2 separate regions of the Homo sapiens genome follow, and region 1 is linked to region 2. The links are contacts of gene promoters, found by promoter capture Hi-C in blood cells and fetal thymus (Javierre and others, 2016). All regions are on one chromosome and are shown on one strand. The core of a region is centred on a gene start or on the middle of the fragment in contact, and the rest is flanking DNA. Distances in the headings are between cores, read along the strand shown.

Evidence for each region. Contacts are between HindIII fragments. The CHiCAGO score rates a contact against its expected background, and 5 or more counts as called.
Region 1: the fragment with the promoter of NKTR here is called in contact with the fragment with the promoter of CCDC13-AS1 in region 2 in 17 of 17 cell types (neutrophils, M0 macrophages, M2 macrophages and 14 more); the score reaches 33.4 in neutrophils.

What each region holds. Positions count from the first base shown.
Region 1 is chr3:42,598,966-42,602,748 of GRCh38, forward strand. NKTR (natural killer cell triggering receptor) reads left to right here and starts at 1,721. Exons shown (of 17, transcript NM_005385.4): 1 at 1,721-1,813; 2 at 2,019-2,099. The coding sequence starts at 2,042. It also overlaps a transcript of SEC22C not described here. RefSeq lists a silencer at 1,815-2,024. The HindIII fragment of the contact is 13,164 bases long and covers 1-3,783 here.
Region 2 is chr3:42,731,013-42,734,632 of GRCh38, forward strand. CCDC13-AS1 (CCDC13 antisense RNA 1) reads left to right here and starts at 1,563. Exons shown (of 4, transcript NR_046732.1): 1 at 1,563-1,646. CCDC13 (coiled-coil domain containing 13) reads right to left here. Exons shown (of 16, transcript NM_144719.4): 11 at 2,458-2,597; 12 at 1,875-1,958. RefSeq lists enhancers at 1,285-1,579, 2,109-2,794, 2,795-3,478 and a silencer at 1,285-1,579. The HindIII fragment of the contact is 15,297 bases long and covers 1-3,620 here.

The sequences.
Region 1 (3,783 bases), core at 471-2,970, 130 kb before region 2:
GATAGATTTTTTTTGTTTGAGACGGAGTCTCGCTCTGTCACCCAGGCTGGAATGCAGTGGACCGATCTCGGCTCACTGCAAGCTCTGCCTCCCAGGTTCACGCCATTCTTCTGCCTCAGCCTCCCGAGTAGCTGGGACTACGGGCGACCGCCACCACGCCCGGCTAATTTTTTGTATTTTTAGTAGAGAAAGGGTTTCACCGTGTTAGCCAGGATGGTCTCGATCTCCTGACCTCGTGATCCGCCTGCCTCGGCCTCCCAAAGTGCTGGGATTACAGGCATGAGCCACCACGCCCGCCCATGTAATGTGTATTTTATAGTTTAAAAAAAAAACTTATAAAATAGTGTGGTACTCAGACACAGATCATTGGAACAAAAATCCAGAAACAGACCCACACATATATGGTCACAAGGCGAAGGTAATTCAATGTATAAGAGTCTTTTCAGGCCGGGCGCGGTGGCTCACGCCTGTAATCCCAGCACTTTGGGAGGCCGAGGCGGGCGGATCACGAGGTCAGGAGATCGAGACCATCCCGGCTAAAACGGTGAAACCCCGTCTCTACTAAAAATACAAAAAATTAGCCGGGCGTAGTGGCGGGCGCCTGTAGTCCCAGCTACTTGGGAGGCTGAGGCAGGAGAATGGCGTGAACCCGGGAGGCGGAGCTTGCAGTGAGCCGAGATCCCGCCACTGCACTCCAGCCTGGGCGACAGAGCGAGACTCCGTCTCAAAAAAAAAAAAAAGAGTCTTTTCAACAAACGGTAATGGAACGACTGTATATCCCAATAGGAAAATGTTGACACTTACTTGACAACATAAGCAAAAATTAATGATATTAGATCATATCATAGACTTACACGTTAAAGACTATGTAAAACATATATGAGAACACAGAATATCTTCAAGAACTTGAGGTAGGCAGAGATTTCCTAGCACAGGAAAAGCACAAACCATTAAAATATAAAACTGACCAATTGACTTAATCAGAATTAAAAACTTCTTTGCCAAAAACGTCAAAACAATGAAACGACAGGCCCAGATTGGGAAAAAGACTTCGCAATCATTTATGTAACAAAAGATTTTCATTCAGAGCATACATATATCTAACAAAACATTTGTATCCAGAACTGTTAAACACGAAGGACCAGATTTAAAAACGGGCAGAAGACTGGAACTGAAACTTCACAAAAGATGCAGAATGGTCAGTAAGCACAGGACAAAAACGGTGCCAGTGACGCTGGTGCCAAAGCGGGAAGGAACGCATTCTTCAGCCTAAAAGACCTAACAGTAGGACACGGACATAACCACTCCCGGCCAAAAAGAACACAGAGCAACACAACGTCTTGGCTAACGAAAACTCAAAGCCTCAATTCACTCAGTTCCTTCACAGCGCTCGGAAACAGAGAAGTCTCGCGGTATCGGAAAATGCGCGGCGCTCACAGCCACACCTGACGAGATGGAGGGCGCAGGCGCATCCACGGCTTTCAGATTGGGCGACTGACTTCAAAGGGGGGGGCAAACAGGGAACGCGCAGGTATAGGAGCGCTGGCTGGAGGCTCCTCGAGAGCTCCCCAGACACGCCCCCGTGCGTACGCCCCCGTGCGTACGCCCCCGCTGCCGCCACCTTCGGTTGACCACCCCCATCTAGACTGTACTCTCGCGGTATTTGTCCCGACTCTCGCGGGGTTTAGCGTGGCATTGGGAGGCCCGGCCTGGGGGAGGAGACGGCGTTCCGTTAGCGGCGTTGGGGTTTGGCTGCAGTGGCAGTGCTTTCTCTTCTGCTCACGGGGACCCGCTCAGGCTGGAGGCCAGCCAGGTGAAGAGCTCGCCCGCATGCGTGCGCGCTGCGTGGGAGCCGCGAGGCCCGGGGCGGGAGGGGGCCTCGTCTTGGCCTCCTGCGCTGTCGCGACGGGCCGGCGTGAGGCACCGTGGCGCGGACTTCGTCTCAGCCCCGCCCTCGCCCCTGCCCTCGCCCCCGCCCTCGCCCCTGCCCTGACCGCTTTTCTCCCCCTCTCTCCCAGCTCTTGCCGCCACCTCGGTCGCGATGGGGGCGCAGGACCGGCCGCAGTGCCACTTCGACATCGAGATCAACCGGGAGCCGGGTGAGCTGGAAACTGGGGAGCGCTGCTGGGGCCGAGGCCTGCCTTGGCGAAGGGGAGGGGTCTACCCTCAGCAACCCTCCCCCGGCCTTTTTGGGAGCGGGTAGGAGGCGCAGGCAACTTTCCGTTTTCTCTTGAGAGAAAATCAGTGGGAGAGGAAGGTGGCCTGGGCACACCCCTAACTCGCAGTCCGGGCCTCTTCCTGCCAAACCCCACACACCCCGCTGCATCTCCGGACTGAGTCCTCGTAGCCAGCCTGGCGCCAAGAAAAGGAGGTGCAGTTCTTTGAGGACTTTTTCTCTCCCAGTGTCTCCGTGAGGCAGACACTCCCGATCCGATTTCCGGTTATCTTGCTTGGTGCTATGAAGTTTCAACTAGTAGGAAATATTGTGTGTTTCCTAATCACGATATATCACTAATATGTTAATTTTGCCTCTATTTTTCCTTAAGAATCTTTAGCTAGAATTTCGTGGTTCCTGGGAAAATGGCTTAGTGAAGATCTTTTGTGATAAACCAGAGCATTTTGTACCAGCAGAATTGCAGCATGCATGCACTTAGCATTAATGTTTGTCTTTAGGGAATCCAGACATTTGTTAGTGTATTTTTTTTAAATGAAACATTTCCTTCTAAAGCATAGTTATTTCATTCTAAGTAGCAGAGCGTGCAGGGTTTCAAACTGTTTTCTTAGCTTTTTTTGTTATCCGTGACAAAAGTTTTAATTGGAGACATATATATATGTGTTGTCTTTGTGCAACATCTTGTTCTGCATATTCTTATGAGAGCCTGCTACTGTTCTAGGGTCTGGAGATAGAGCAGCGCATAAAACAAAGGCCTCTTCCTTTTATAGTTTATATTCTATTGGGGGGAAGACGGACAACTAGGAAAAAAATAACAGTGACTTGTAGTTGGGATACTATTTTAATAAGTTGGTCAGACAAGGCCATTTTGAGAAGATGAGATTTAAGCAGGTATCAGAAGGAGATGAAGTGAGCCGTATTTAAGAAGAGCATTCGTGGTAGAGGGAAACAGCACAGCCCTGAGGTGAGGAGTAGTATACAGTCAGGCGCCAAATGACATTTCTATCTTTAACAATGGTCTTATATATAATACCTTTTTTTGGTAACTTTTTAATGTTTAGCTGTGTTTAGATATACAAATACTTCATTGTGTTAAAGTTGCCTACGGTATTCAGTGGAGTAACATCCTGTACAGGTTTGTAGCCTAGGAGCAAATAGACTATATAGCTTAGGTGTGTAGTAGGCCGTACCATCTAGGTGTGTTTAAATACATTCCATGATGTTCACACAATGACGAAATTGCCTAATTACACATTTCTCAGAATCCGTCCTGGTTATTAAACAATGGAGGACTGTACTTGCATGTTTGAGGGACAGCAGGGTGCCCAGTGTGGCTGGAGTAGAAGAGGAAAGAGAATAGTAAGAAATGGCCTGTAGGACTGACTCAGTGAGGTAGGAAGATATTAAAGGGTTTCGAGCAAAGGGATGAGATAATCCTGGAAATTTGGTTGCCTTCTCTCTCTTTTTAATGTTTTTAGCCTTGATTGATCTTTTTTTTTTTTTTTTTTAAATAAGTGTTACTAGAAAGCCTTGATGGACCTTAATCTTTATTTTGTAGTGAATCCATGCTTTAGATAACAGGGTTATTTTCTATTAAGAATTAAAAATAG
Region 2 (3,620 bases), core at 313-2,812:
TGGTCCCCAAGCCCAGCCCACTTTCCTGGAGCCTGTGCATTTGGCTTTGTGACTTGTTCAATTTTCTCCAGCCCTAAGCCAACCCATCACTGCTTCCCTCTTACCTGCTGGCTGGAGCCAGGACAGAAGGTAAACTCTGCCCCCCAACTTCAACCCCCCAGAGCCCACATGTGAGTTCCAAGCTGCTCTCCGCTGTGCCCCCACTTTTCCCAGTGAGACCCTGAGCTTACTTTTCTAGCAGTACAGGGCATAGGGAAGGCTGCAGAGCTGGGCAGTGTACTGAAAACTGGGCTGGGGCATGTGATCCTGAGGGCTGACTTCTCGGTGGTCTTGGGCAGGTCTCTTCCTCTCTCTTGGCCCCAGTTCCCCCACTAAACATTGAGAGGGGTGGTTTAGATGGGCTCCGAGAACTGCAGACCCCTCTGTGACTCCTAAATATGCTCTAAGGCCTTGCTACTACAAGTGGTCTCTGAATCGGTGGCTCTGGCATCTCCTAGCAGCTTGTTAGAAATGCAGAATCCCAGGCTTTACCCCAGACCTGCTGAATCAGAACCCACACTTGACCTGGCTGATCAGCAGGGGCTCTGTGTGTGCACTGCAGTTTGGAAAGCCCCATTCATTTCCCCAGTTCTAGAATGTGGGAAGAGGAGGAGCAGGAGCAAAGGGCCGATTCTTCACTCTGCCCTCCTCCCAGGCACCCCACCAGAGTCACCTGAAGGGAATGGGTTCAAACCATGCCAGCCCGAATAGACATACTCTCTGGGATCACTCTGCCCTGTGAATTCCTGTCCTGTCACCTGTGGGAGGGGACTGTAAGCTCCATGAGGGTAGGGCCCACACATGGTCGAGTTTAGTAAGTATTTGTGTGTTGTGGAAGAAACAAGCCTGACAACCAGCAGTCTGGGCAGCCAAGGCACAGAGCAGCTCCTGTATTTCTGTGTGGCACAGAGGTCACAGCCACACAGGCCTGGAAGGGGCTCGAAGGGGTCATCTTGTCCATCTTCCTGCTCTCTTTACTGTGACTAAAACCTCAGAGAGGCAGAGCCTCCCCAATCTCCCTGTGCTGTGACAAGACCTCCCACCCTAAGGAGCGTGGCACATGCCTTGTGGCTCAGTGTCAGCCCACTCTCCCCAAGTGCCTTTATGACCCCAGCCTGATGGGTGGGGCAGCTTTGGCCCACAGACCCTATGCTGCCAAGTGTCAGCAGCATGCTGTCCCCCACTTTTCGGGGATAGCAGCCCAGAGAAGGACCAGTTTGCCTGGAGCCACAGAGATGAGGGACTGGGGCCACTTGGAGGCTTTGCCTGGAACCTGAGCTGACCTGCCTGAGGGGTCAGGGTGGGGAGTGTTGACAGCAGGAGCATGGCTCCAGTGGACAGTGGGCAGGGCTCGGGACAGGGCTTAGAGGCAGGACAACGCTGTCCTTTGTCTATGGGCTGGCAGTAGGAACAAAGGGCCCATTTACACCCTCTGGCTTGATTCTGTCAACAAAGAGGGGGCCCAAGGTCTGAGGGGATATCAGTGGGAACCCATATCATGTGAAATTCTCCCCTTAGAGGCTGATTCTCAATGAGCAAGAGAAGATGAGGGAAGGTGCTAGAAGCCAGGCCCAGGAAGGTTCCTCAGGTTAATTCTCACGTAGCAGGTAGGAACCCTAGCCTGGGAGTCAGAGGCCAAGATTCTAGTTCTGAAGCTGCTTACTCTATCATCTTGGACAGGACTTCCCTGATCCTCCCTGTCTTTATGTAACCTTGGAAGAGTCCCTGGACTTTGCCTGGCCTCAGTTTCCCCTCCTTTTAATGGGATGGCAATACTGGTTGAGCAATCAAGAATGGGAAAAAACTGTGAGAGTCCGGGGGTCGGGGGTCCATACCTAGGTGAGGTCCTGTGGGGACTGGGCAGGGAAGGCCTCGTGAGAGCAGATTCCACCAGTGTGTGGCCCAGGCTGGTCACAGAGCTGTGTAAAGGCGGAAGGGGCCCATCAGCCTGGGAAGGCAGACCAGGCCCTACTGGGCCTCACCTCTGCATGTGAGGTGGAGCAGTGGCCAGCAGGGGTCCAGGAAACCCTTGCAGCAGTCCTGTGGATTTGCTGCCCTTCTTTCCAGAACTCTTGTTTGCTCAAAATGAGACAGAACAGGAGACACCAGAGCCTTGAACAACCCAACACGGGTCTGTTTGAAGGCCCCAGGGGCAGAAAACTTTTGAGGCCAGCTCAGAAAGGCTCTTACAGAGAGCTGCAACCAGCATGCTCTTGAAGTGATAAAATCTGGGCCTAACCGGCTCATTTCTGCAGACGCAGAGCTAATGTCATAGGAGAGGCCCACGTATTGGAAGAACAACAGCATAGTCATCTTAAAATTGCACCTGTGGCTTCCCATCAGAGGTAGCAAGAAACAACCTTTCTTCCGAATAATTAATGTTCACTTTCCAACCCCTCCCTCCCATTGTTTTCTTACCGAGAAGATCCAAGCCTGCCAACATGATCGCCTGCTGAGGCCGGGGACTTGGTCAGGCCTGGGTCCTCCAGGAACTGGGTATAGGCAGGGCTGACCTCGCGGCCACTGGACCCCTCACCCACTCCTTTATTCCGAAGATACTGTAGGAACAGATGTGGGTTCCATCCTCAGGGCTTTGGCTCAGAGGCCTAGAGAAGGCAGGAGGGGATCTTGGCTTGATTTCGGGGCTTTCAGAGGATATGAAAGAGGCTTCTTTTCAGGAGTGAAAAGCGAGGCCTGTTTGGTGAAGGCACTACTTGCATGATAATGACATCTAATAATGCCTCTCTTCAGAAAGAAAGCTACATGGTGTGAGGACGGTGACTGGGCCAGGAAGCTGTTCTACATTCAGGTTCCAGAGGGAGGTGCACGGCCCTGCATGCGGGGCAGGTCAGAGACTGACGTCTCTGAGTGGGTCCGCTTCTCCAGGCGGCCCCACCCACATGTGGTTGAACACCAGGTGTGACTTGAGGCCAGCTGCCTTCCTCAGCTGGAACACCTGGACCTTCCAGACACCTGCAGCCAGAGAGGCTGGCAGGGACTCAGTGAGGGCAGGCAGCCTTGGGTGGAGGCTAAGCCTGCCAGGCCCCCACCCCTCCCTCAACCCCTTCCTCTTCTGGATACCTGCTGGGGCTGGACTGGACAGGAACATTAGAGGACCCCCAGCAGGAGGTCAGGCCACCAGAGTGGACAACCGGTGTAAGCCCCTAACAACCTGGCTTGTCCCCCAGCCCCACCCATTTTGAGAAAACTCGAAACGTGTGCCGACTTAAGTCTGGTGGGTAATGCTTGGCCCCCATTCAGCTGGTGACCTCGGAGGTAGGAACAGTCTTCTCCTGTGTGCCTGGAGAAAGGACAGTGGTGAGGTGAAGATGCTGGAATCTTCCCCTTCAGACTTCCCTCCCCAGTGAGCCAGGATGGGGAGCAGGGTGAGTCCCCATTCACTGCCGTATGTGCTCTGTTCCCAGACTTCCTTGTGCCCCCAGGCTCCCCTTCAGCCTCACAGCACTATGTCACAGCCAGTCCTGGGGCCCCAGGCTACCCTGGCCTGTGGGAATAGAGGCTACAGGACAAACCAGGCTGGTCAGCCAATGCCAGACTGAGGCAGGGCCGAGGGGCTCTTG